Linked DNA regions of Homo sapiens: region 1 is linked to region 2. The links are contacts of gene promoters, found by promoter capture Hi-C in blood cells and fetal thymus (Javierre and others, 2016). All regions are on one chromosome and are shown on one strand. The core of a region is centred on a gene start or on the middle of the fragment in contact, and the rest is flanking DNA. Distances in the headings are between cores, read along the strand shown.

The links. The method cuts DNA at HindIII sites, captures the fragments that hold promoters and counts their contacts. A CHiCAGO score of 5 or more calls a contact.
Region 1: a contact is called between a fragment that was not itself captured here and the fragment with the promoter of MRPL44 in region 2, in 1 of 17 cell types (total B cells). The highest score is 7.0, in total B cells.

The regions. Positions count from the first base shown.
Region 1 is chr2:223,767,883-223,774,198 of GRCh38, forward strand. The region is part of intron 3 of AP1S3 (adaptor related protein complex 1 subunit sigma 3); the gene reads right to left. Among named protein-coding and RNA genes, the nearest start is that of AP1S3, 67 kb to the right of the region's middle. The HindIII fragment of the contact is 1,260 bases long and covers 3,655-4,914 here.
Region 2 is chr2:223,954,223-223,960,374 of GRCh38, forward strand. It overlaps MRPL44 (mitochondrial ribosomal protein L44), which reads left to right and starts at 3,241. Exons shown (of 4, transcript NM_022915.5): 1 at 3,241-3,429; 2 at 5,312-5,780. The coding sequence starts at 3,251. RefSeq lists a silencer at 3,016-3,085 and an enhancer at 3,156-3,325. The HindIII fragment of the contact is 10,687 bases long and covers 1-5,350 here.

The sequences.
Region 1 (6,316 bases), core at 3,035-5,534, 190 kb before region 2:
GATTTGGTCATCAGTTTCTACTGATTCTATTGTCTAAATAAGTCCCTACCCTTCCTGTCTTCTCTGCTTTCACAGCTGCTGCTCAGGCCTACAGCACTTCTCCATCAGGCCACTGCAATGACCTTCCAGGTGGCGGTTGTGCCTGCTCAGGGCCATTGACCACTAATGCTTAGCTAAAATGCTGATCTTGTGCCTCTCCAGTGTAAGGTCTTCAGGACAAAGGCATATAGGAATCTTTACCAGCCTGGGCCCTGCTGTCTGATTTCCCGTGCCAGTTCTCATCCATGCATCTGACACACATGCCACAAACTCACAATGTCACGGTGTTTTGTGCCTTTGCTTTCTGCACATTCCAACAATTCTTGAATTGTGTCCCCAAATGTCCTTTTCTTTATTCTCCTGCTGGCAAAACCAAGCTCATTTTTTCAAGGCCAAATTCAAAAGTCAGGCATGTGGCGATTCCCCACATCCCCTTTTCCCCATTCAGATTTCACATCACTTCCTGTGGGTTCTCACTTACATCTTCTGTGCACTAGTTTCTGCTTATTGATTACTAATCACTCCCCCGTACTGTGAGTTCAGGGCAGAAACTTTGTCTTCATTATCTTTATATCCCTGGTTTCTGGCACATTGTAAGACACAAAAAATGCTTGTAAGATAAATGAATGAGCAAGTTTAAGTAGAGGCCTTGTCTGGGCATGGTGGCTCACGTCTGTAATCCCAGCACTTTGGGAGGCTGAGGCAGGCAGATCACTTGAGGTCAAGAGTTCAAGACCAGCCTGGCCAACATGGTGAAACCTTGTCTTTACTAAAAATACAAAAATTAGCCAGGCATGATGGTGCACGACTGTAATCCCAGCTACTCAGGAAGGTGAGGCAGAAGAATCACTTGAACCCAGGAGGCAGAGGTTGCAGTGAGCCAAAATCATGCCACTGCACTCCAGCCTGGGTGACAGAGCAAGACTCCTTCTCAAAAAATAAAAATAAATAAATATAGGCCTTGTTTCTAATATGCTAGAGATTAATGGCATCCCAGATACAATTCTATGGTTGTACTGAATGCTATAACTTTGCATGAAATAGATGTCAATATTTTAGCAAATTCCTCCATATACTTACAAGTTAGGTCAATAAACTAGCAAACTTCACAAGGAACATGGTTTAAGTCAACAGATCCAAATGAATCCAACTTCCATACAGAATTACCATGGCATACTGGGGGTATATCACAGTTTATTTAAGCAGTTCCTTTATGGATATGGGCAGACTTTGGGCTGTTTCCAGTTTTTATTCTAAATGATGCTGCCATAATTTTTGTTGTGTATTGTATACTAATTTGAGTATAGTGTAGGAATAAATTCCTTGGGGAATTTTGGGTCAAAGGATTTGTATATTTAAAATTGATAAATACTAAAATGTGGTCCTCCAAAGTAGTCTATAAAACTTAAAAGTTTCACTAACAGTAGGAGTGATTACCTATTTATGCCATCTCCAGCAATGGATAGTCTCTAAATTTTCGGATGAATATTAATTAAACTTGCATTTCCCTGCTTATTAGTGAGACTGTACATCTTATTAGATATGCACTGGCCCTTTCCATTTCTTGCCTTGTCTACAAATTGCTTCTTAAAGACTTTGTTTTTTTCTATTGTAATATTTGTCTTAGAAATTTGAATGATTCTTTCGGTGTCACAGATACTGTCTCCTTTCCCTGCTGTTGTATATGTTTCAGCTATGTAGAAGCTGAAAAGAATAAGGTAGATTTACATGCACAAATATGGCAAGAGCTCTAAGATAGACTTGTAAGGAGGAAAAAAAAGAAAGTTGCAGAATAATATGCAGAATGCAATCCCATTTTTTTTTTTTTTTTTTTTTTTTTTTGAGACGGAGTCTCCCTGTCGCCCAGGCTGGAGTGCAGTGGCGCGATCTCGGCTCACTGAAGGCTCCGCCCCCCGGGGTTCACGCCATTCTCCTGCCTCAGCCTCCCGAGTAGCTGGGACTACAGGCGCCCGCTACCTCGCCCGGCTAATTTTTTGTATTTTTAGTAGAGACGGGGTTTCACTGTGTTAGCCAGGATGGTCTCGATCTCCTGACCTCGTGATCCACCCGCCTCGGCCTCCCAAAGTGCTGGGATTACAGGCGTGAGCCATCGCGCCCGGCCGCGATCCTATTTTTAAAAACCGTATATGTTTAGAGGGACATGTAAAAATATGCATCATTTTTGCAGTTTTAAACAATAGAAAGAAACAAAAAGAAATCACAATAGATTAGACATCCATGTACATGAAAGAAGGTATGAGAAGAAAGCAGTTACCAGAGGTCAGAAAAGGCAGAAGTCAGGAGTTATAGTAGCAAGCTGAGGAACCTCGGAGTTCAAGGCAGGCGTAGACCAGGAATCCAAGACAGACAGGAGCCTCATTAGGAGAAACCAGCAATTAAACTCCTGCAAAGTGAACCTGACAGATACTAATGAAAATTCTCCAGGAACTTCTTATACCCCACTTTGACACGTCCCCAGGTCTGGGTCCTCCAGCAGCCATGGGGCAATTAATTTACTGTACTAGTTTCAAGGGATAAGGGTAAGGTAAGGTGGTATTCAGAGTTAGAGAGACAATACACACACACACACACACACACACACACACACACCCCTTGATATACAGTTACTATCTGTAGCTCTGAAGAGAAATGTATATGCAAGTTCCATAGGCATTACAGAGAATGTTACAACTGAGCAACTATTTCACATACAGCAACACAAAAGTGCTACCCTATAGTTATTCTTTGAGTCTACTGCCATCTGAGAATGAGAGAAAATATCCAGGAAGACCCTTAGACCAGTTCATTTTTTTTTTTTTTTTTTTGGAAACAGTCTTACTCCGTCACCCAGGCTGGAGTGCAGTGGAATCATCTCAGCTTGCTGCAACCCCTGCCTCCTGGGTTCAAACTATTCTACCGCCTCAGCCTCCCAAGTAGCTGCGATTACAGGCATATGCCACCATGCCTGGCTAATTTTTTTATTTTTATTTTTAGTAGAGACAGGGATTCACCATGTTGGCCAGGCTGGTCTTGAACTCCTGACCTTAAGTGATCCCCCCCACCTTGGCCTCCCAAAGTGCTGGGATTACAGGCATGAGCCACCGTTCCCAGTCCCAAGTCAGGTTTCTGAAGCTACTGCCTAATTACTTATGCCTGTAATCCCAGCACTTTGGGGGGGCTGAGGCGGGCTGATCATTTGAGGTCAAGAGTTCGAGACCAGACTGGGCAACATGGTGAGACCCTGTCTCTACTAAACATACAAAAAATTAGCCAGGCATGGTGGCACACGCCTGTAATCCCAGCTACTCGGGAGGCTGAGGCAGGAGAATCGTTTGAACCCAGGAAGCAGAGGTTGCAGTGAGCCAAGACTGCACCACTGCACCCCAACCTGGGCAACGGAGTAAGACTCTGTCTCGGGAAAAAGAAACAAAATAAAATAAAATAAAATAATAAATTCCACCTTGAGGTTGTCCCAATACAACAAAAATATGTACTTGATGCTCAAGTGATTCCACTCCTTCTAATTATGCAAATACCCCGGCTTCTTGCTCCCTCACCATGTTAATAAACATGAGCCTCTTTATTTATTTTCTCGTGTATCTAGATTCTGAATAAAGCTTTCAAATGGTAGAAACTATCATTTAACTTTATCTTCAATGTCCTAGCCTTGTGCTCTTCTGTAATTTGGCTTAAGGTTCTTTTCTTACAGCAGAATTCATGGTGCAGTGAGATTATTTCTGGCATTTCACCAACTGAATCCTTTTGGACAGAATCTAAGAAGCACATGTACTTATTAAATGATGCTCTAAAGTAAATACAAAAAGTTTCAAGTTACATGCAGCAAATGCTTCAAATAATAGTAAACTATATAACTACCATAAAGCTATATATAAAATAAGAATAGGCCGGGCACAGTGGCTCACGCCTGTAATCCCAACACTTTAGGAGGCCGAGGTGGGTGGATCACCTGAGGCCAGGAGTTTGAGACCAGCCTGGCCAACATGGCAAAAACCCATCTCTACCAAAAATACAAAAATTAGCCAGGCATGGTGGCACATGCCTGTAATCCCAGCTACTAGGGAGGCTGAGGTAGGAGAATCGCTTGAACCCGGGAGGCGGAAGGTGCAGTGAGCCGAGACCGCGCCACTGCATTCCAGCCTGGGCAACAAGAGCGAGACTCCGTCTCAAAAAAATAAATAAATAAAATAAAACAAGAATAATTATAATGCAATGTACAACTATATAGCAATTAATAGTTTATTAAGTATTGCTATCACGCCATCTCTTTGCCCCTCCCAGCAGCCCTATAAGGTTAGCAAAGTAAACACTTCTCTTAACCTTTTTGAGGGTCATTTTTCTCATCTGCAAAACGGAGACACATGACAGGCCCCAAATCCTTGAATTGGTGAGAGAGTGAGCCTACACCAGCATCCGGGGGACCCATAGTGCTCTTCCCCTGACAGCAAAAAACAAACAAACAAAAAACTCCCTACATCAAATTCAAAAGCTCTCTGGGAGATCAACATCCTCACACACTGAGGCACCAGTAAAAATTCACACTGTAGTCTGTAATGCAGAAATATGGCAGGTATCTAAATCCTCAGACTCTTATCTGGCATGAGACTTTGAGGCATTTCCTCTGAGCCTCTATAAATTGAGGTTAATGCTACTTACTGAAGATCGGAAGATTAACTAGTTAATCCTCGTAAATCTCCTTGGAATTGAAAAGTGCTAAAAAAAAATACATAACTTAAATTAGTAGCCAGAGATTTTGATCCGTCTGTCTTCAGCAGATAATATTTTCCAGTGTTATAAGAGAAGCTCAGTACCAAGTTTTCCCCTAGATAACATTATATAAGGGCAGAATTCAAGGAAAGCTTTAGTATTAATATGGGAGGAAAAGAAAATCAAAGAGAAATATTTTATTGCTGAGATTATGTCAATGAGAATCAGTACTGGAAGTCTTTGCTCATCACTGTTAATTAACAAGAACCGAACTTCTACTGGGCATATAGCCTTGAATTGCTCTTAGCTGCTCTTAGCTTAATGAAAGATTCATTGAATTTTTTAATAAATTAAATTTTGGTACATGACAAAGACAGAGCTTCCAAAGGTATACCAAAATAGAATGGGAAATTAATGTTAGAGAAATGGGAATTCATTCTGACTCTCTTTGTACTTTAACTGGGTTTAGCATTGGTGAAGGTCACTCAAGTTCTCTTGAGAAGCATAATGCCCTGAGATATCTGGCTGAAATTTGGTCAGATAGATTGAGATCAAAATTCAGCCCCAATTCACATTATCACAGTTGGTTTAATCTAGGAAAATACAACAGGTCAAGCCGGAGTTCAGAAATGAGAAAGAGAAGGCAGGTTACGGGAATGCCCAGACCTCAAGGAAACTTCTTCAGGCTCTTGCAAAAGGCCAAGTCTGTAGTTTATTTCAAAGGAAAGTACAAAAATGTGAGAATTCATTTGAATAGTAGAAAGTATTAAATAATATGTTTGAAAACATGTTATTATACATTTGCAAATTTCTCCTTAAAAAAATGAAAATAAACTTGGTATACCAAGAGGAGAAAGAAAAGATGGTCTAGTTGTCTTATTGCTGTTATATACTGACCAACAACCTGAAATCCCTGAAGCAACATTTTAGGTCTTAACAACATCATTTACAAGGGGGAAAAAAGGGAGGGAGGAAAAATTCTTTCAGAAATCTTTCCAGTGTTCATCCTTATGAAAAGTGTTGCAACAAATCTGATAAAACGTGTTCAATATTGCAAATACTGCTCATTCCATTAAAGAGAATAACAACAAGAACAAAAAAAAACTCTGCTGGAAGCAAATTATCCTAACACTTAACAAAAACTTCAGTGAGTAAGGGAATAGGGAAGAGGGTATTATGAGAAGAAAACATTTTCCAAATCCAATGATTTATTTCTTGAAACTGTGAAATGGATTAAATGTTTTTGGAACATTTGCTATCAAGTCTGGCCCACAGCTGGTTACAAGTTAAGCGGTGGGGGGATAAAATGAGTCACAAAGCACTGGTCTCAAGAGAATTGCAATTTGGTGGTCAAGCAAATCGGGTGCCAGTTAGGGACACTCCAAGGTCATTTCTTGTTGCTGGAGAACTGTCAGGTATATAAAAAGGGAAATGTAGGCTGGAGGCAGTGGCTCATGCCTGTAATCCCAGCACGTTGGGAGGCCAAGGCAGGCGGATCGCCCGAGGTCAGGAGTTCAAGACTAGCCTGGCCAACATGGTGAAACCCCATCTC
Region 2 (6,152 bases), core at 1,991-4,490:
CTGCATCTAGCAAAATCCACGCTTCCATCTAGAACCAGCACTCTGAGGCCATCCCCTAAGTCTCATGAATATAGAGCATTTTTTATTTTGCCATTTTCATCCAATTGATTTGACCCTATGTGTATTAATTATCTGTTGCTATGTAACAAATTACTCCAGAACTTAGTGGCATAAAGCAACAAACGTTTATTTTCTCATACATTTCCTGAGGGCCAGGAGTTTGGGAGCAGTTTAGCTGGGTGATTCTGGCTGAGGGTCTCTCATGAGGATGCAGTCAAAGCGCTGGCCAGTAGGCAGTCATCTGAAAGTCTGACTGGGAGTGGAGGATCCAATTCTAAGACAGCTCATTCATTCACATGGCTGTTAGCGGGAGGCCTCAGCTACTCATCACATAAGCCTTTCCACATAGTTTCTTAGGCAACATCATAACATAGCAGCTGACTTCCTGACAGGAGACTAATCCAAGAAATACAAGGTATCTGACCAAAATGGAAGCTATGATGTATTTTATTACCTAACCCCAGAATTGATAAAAACATCCATGGTCTATTGGTTACACAGACTAATCCCAGCACAATGTGAGAGGGGAATGTACAAGGGTGTAAGTACCAGGAGGTGGGGCTTGTTGAGAGCCATCTTGCTGGCCGCTAACACACCAAAAAAGTTTTGCTTCCATAATTATGAATTAAAGTGTTTATAACAGAATTATACTAACATTGATGCATTTTTTTTGAGAAAATGTTTTCTGGAATAAGCTCCATGAAACCAATTAAATTTCTTGATCAATTTTCTATACAGCACAAGTATCCTATTTCTAATTGTATTTTCATGTTTCTATTGCTTAATGTATTTTCATGAATTTTTTTCCACATTTATTTCCTAAGATGTTATTTGTTGCTCAGGTTTACTAAGGCTTTTTGCTAATCAGTTTTACTATCATGAGTTTTCTGTTGCAGCTTTTAGATCTATCAAGTCAAATTTTCCATCAAGTCAAATTTTCCAAAGCTAGGTTGAACAGATGTAACTTTGGTGAAGACTGATTCTATATCGATATTTATCAGTAACTCCAATTTTGTATTTTGAACAGTTTTAACTATAGTAATTTTCATTCTATGGTAATTATTTCTGTCTGTAATTTTCCTTGTGAGTTGGATTAAAGGCCACTATTTGGTAGTTATTCCTTAGCTAATCTATGAAGTAGTGGTGAGTAATCCCAGGTGGTTCAGAATTGCTTGATTGTTCAGGAAGGTCCTATAGCAGAGCTTACTAACTTTGTTATCCATCTTTCTGTGCCCCGTATTCCAGCTGCCTTCACCATCATTGAAGGAATATATAAGCAATATCCCTGGCATCAAAACACAAAAGGTTGTGTTCCCCAAGGGTTAAAGTGAACCCTCAATCGCCTCACCTCCTCTTCCTAAGTGTGACTTTTCCCCACCCTTCCACCTGACCTTAACCCAATGAAAACTCGAAAGTTGTTGACATCTGTGAGCTTTGATCAAATTAGGGCTAACAGCAGGTTAAAGGAAAAATCAGGTTTTTGAGGGCTGAAAAACACATTGGCCTTTTTCTTCCTTAAAGTTTTCTGAGCCTGGATCCTGGAACCAAGTCCTCCTCCTATTATGTGTTTATTGAATAAATAGACAAATGTATGAGCAGATTTTAAAAAACTGGTTAATTCCTAAGTTCCATGAAGGGCATTAGTAGAAGAAATCTTTTGAGGACCTACATTTTTTTAATCTGCAAATGATGCTCTCGTTGTTGTATGACTGAGAAACTCTCAACACAGAGACACCTCATTTTAACTTAACATGATTGTGCTACAACTGGCTTAGATTATTTTTCCTAATAAATGAAATTCTACAGAAATGACAGTTCCCTGCATTTTCTCCTAATCCATTTATTGGATTGATGTTCCATGAATTTTCAATACTTTACATACATTGAAACAAGAAGGTCAATCGTAACCTCCTTTCACCCCTTCTTGGAGAATTTCCTTCAACCAGAAATCCATCAGTTTGTTTTTTGGTGTGTGCTCAGCCCCTCTTTTGCTCTCTCCCTCCCCAAAGGGAACCCTTTTATAAGCTGAGATGAACCATTTAGATTCTCCCTTTTGAAATGGTCAAGCTGAGAAACCCAAATTGAGTTCTATGATCCTGGCACTGAAGATTCTCGGGCTAAGTCATAACATGCTTTGTGGTCTGTGTTTCAGAGAGATGAATGTAGGTGAGCTGTGTCTGGGGAAGGGAGGAAGGTACCAGGCCAATTACACTAACCACGGAAAGAGGTGAGGAGAGCCACCAGGTACCTGCAGTGGAAATAAATGGAAAAAGCACTTGGTGGAAACTGCACCGAAGAGGGGGTTTGTCGAAACAAAAACAATCAAAGACATAGGAGTTCAATCTGGGTGACTGCTGGGGACACAGATGCCTTTAACAAAGAGATCACAGAAAGCATTGCCCCTTTGAGGGTCTAGATGTTCAGCAGGCAACTCAAAACTGGGAATTCAAACAAGCCTCCCTTTGTGACTTAATATGTTCTTTTAAAAATTGTACTGTATTAACAGTTTGGTAGGAAAGCAATAGAATTACATTGTTAAAGAGTGTTAACATAAAGAAGGAAGAAACTGTAATTCCCCTATTACCGTTTTATGTTTTTTTCCAGTCATTTTCCGGATGTTTAAAAATATGTACTATTAGATTGCTTTTAAAGAAAAATTTTAATTTTGGATAAGCCAACATTTCTGAGTCTAGGGTTTCCAAAACTAAGGCTTTTGGAGGCGTGCTGGGTCAAAAATAGAAGCTCGGTAAATACTTGCTCAGTAGTGGCCTAGAACACTAAATATAAATTAAAAATGTTTTCTTTTTTTGAGGATTTAAATGTTTCCTTAACCTGAAAGCGAAACAGATTTTTGTTTGTTTTGCTGTAACGAGAGAGGAAGGAACAAGAGAGTGACAGGGTGAAGCAACTTCTCCCAGAAACTTTTGGGCGCAAACGCCCTCAAGTCCGGATCATTGGAAAGTAACTCGAAGAGAGGAGAGAACTAGCGCAAGCGTAGCCTCAAGGCGGCCGCAATCACCCCGCCCCGGGGCTGTCTCCGCCCCTGCCCTCTCTCAGTCGCCCCGCCCCGGGGGCTGTCTCCGCCCCAGCCTTCTCTTCGCGTTCCGCGTTCCGGGTTCCGGGGGAAGTGTGTTACGGGGACACTGGCCCGACTACTTTCGTTCCGTCTTCCATCGTTTTCTCTCGTGCAATGGCGTCCGGGCTGGTAAGATTGCTGCAGCAGGGACATCGCTGCCTCCTGGCTCCAGTCGCCCCCAAGCTGGTCCCTCCGGTTCGGGGAGTGAAGAAGGGATTCCGCGCCGCCTTCCGCTTCCAGAAGGAGTTAGAGCGGCAGCGCCTTCTGCGGTGCCCGCCGCCGCCCGTGCGCCGGTAGGAGCCACCTCGGGAAGAGGTCTCAGGGTGGCGGTCGCAGACACTGGGTCTTCTTCCCGCGGCGTCGTGTCTGCGGCTGATGCGCCCCTGGGTTAAGCCTTAGGAAGTTTGCGATGGAGACACCCGTGAGCTGTGGGCGCGGGGCCTGAGGCAAAAAAAATGGATTTGTGCCGCGGGCGGTAGAGCTTCGGGCTGTTCCCGACGTTTTGAAACTACCATTTAGGATTTTGGCTACTGAAAATTGGGAGAAATGGGGCTAACTGGAGGGTCTTCCTTATGTGGACTTGGATGTTGTAGTCCCCGTTTGTAATGCCTGAGAATTCCGATAAGCGGGAAGAAAGCAGCCCACAGCATCGTAAATTAAGGAGAAAAAAAATTAATCTACAACCTGAATTCTGCTGTCTAGAGTAAAAGGAAAAAAAGTTAGCTTTAGATTTTTGCCCTAATTAATGCTGTTCTGGTAACAGGTTTGGCAGAGAGAGACACAGGTTTTTATAGCTTCAAACCAGATCATACTTTACATAATTTAAATTCCTTCATCTTGCTTTTTCTCTTTAATAATGTGTGTTTGACATGTTGTCATGGTATTACAAAGATATGTACCTCACTCTTTTTTATGGCTCTGTATATATGGGCCTATGAGCTCCATATTATTGCCATTAAAACCTATGTAACAGCGCGTAAAGGGGACGCATGTGTAGTATGAAATTTTGAAAGCTATTAGTACTTTAACATTGCCCTCCAAAAAATGTTGATCCACTTTGTACTCCTACCAGTAGGAACGGTCTTCTAACAGAGAAGATTATAGCAAAAAATAAAATCTCTTCTTAATTCCCATTCCCTTGTTTATTATAAGATTAAGTATTTTAGGCTCTCAAAGGTGGAAGAAACTTTATGGGTTGGACAGATTATATAGGTGTATATGTTATATGTATATCTTACGACTTTCAACCTAGGTTTTCATACTTTGCTTCCCTTTGTTTCTTAAAGGGGTTTTATATTGTGTTACGTATAAGTAATCCAGAGATGACTTAAAGTATACAGGAGGATGTGCATAGGTTATATGCAGATACAGGTATACCTCATACATATTGTAGGGTTGGTTCTAGACCACGACAATAAAACGAGTCACATGACTTTTTTAGTTTCCCAGTGTATACCTAAGTTATGTTTATACTATTCTGTAGTTTATTAAGTGTACAGTAGTAGTGTCTAAAAAGCAATATATGTACCTTAATTTAAAATACTTTATTGCTAAAAAATGGTAACACAGAGACACAAAGTGAGCACATGCAGAATTGCTACAGACCTTCAGTTTGTAAAAATAAAATGCAATAAATCTGTGAAGCACAATAGACCGAAGTACAGTGAAACGAAGTGTGCCTGTACTACACCATTTATATGAGAGACTTGAGCATCCATGAATTTCAGTATCCAGGAGAGTCCTTGGAACCAATCCCCTACAGATATTGAGGGATGACTGCAAATATAACATACTAGTGTTTATGGCTTGAATCTGTGAAATTAACATTTATGCTTCATACTTAGGTATAAAACATAGTATCATGGTTAGAGCAGAAATAAGGAACCTAAAAGTTAGGCTAATGGCTTGGTCTTTTATATTGAAGAACCAATTTCATGTGACAATTGGATCAAAGGGAAAATTAATCCAGTCATATATGTAGAATATAGCAAAGGACTGCCAGTATTTATCTGACTTTAGTCTTAACATTTAGAATATCAACCTGGCATTAAAAAGAAATATAACCTTCTTTCATTTCCTTTATATAATTAATAACATTACAACACAGTGAACAATTTTTATATCACAGTAACAGGTTGTTCTCTTTACCATCTCTTACTGTCTTTACATTTTCAGTTCAGAGAAGCCGAACTGGGATTACCATGCAGAAATACAAGCTTTTGGACATCGGTTACAGGAAAACTTTTCCTTAGATCTTCTCAAAACTGCATTTGTTAATAGCTGCTATATTAAAAGTGAGGAGGCCAAACGCCAACAACTTGGGATAGAGAAAGAAGCTGTTCTTCTGAATCTTAAAAGTAATCAAGAACTATCCGAACAAGGGACATCTTTTTCACAGACTTGCCTTACACAGTTTCTTGAAGACGAGTACCCAGACATGCCCACTGAAGGCATAAAAAATCTTGTTGACTTTCTCACTGGTGAGGAAGTCGTGTGTCACGTGGCTAGAAACTTGGCTGTGGAGCAGTTAACACTGAGTGAAGAATTCCCAGTGCCCCCAGCTGTGTTACAGCAGACTTTCTTTGCAGTTATTGGAGCCCTGTTACAGAGCAGTGGACCTGAGAGGACTGCACTTTTCATCAGGGTACGTAACTATTAATTGGACATGCTTGAGATAGACAGAAGGGAAAATATTCTTTTGTAATTCACTTCTTTGATATATCACCTTGGAAGTGAATTTTTCTCCCAAGAAAAACTGAGAAAGACCTAAAGGTTTTTTATGGAAGGGCTGTAATTATTCCAGTTGTCTCTTATTATGGATATCATCAGAAGTGAATATTAAATTGTGGGTTGTGATTTCTGAAGGACCACAAGCCATATCATCTTTAAGTTTACATCCTTAGGGCCAAGGATACTGCCTGCATGAGAGATACTCAGTAGATGTTTGGTGAATGAGTGAAGTCAAAGGACACTATGCAGAGGCCTGTGCTTCAGTACCAGCTGCTGTCTGCTCTTC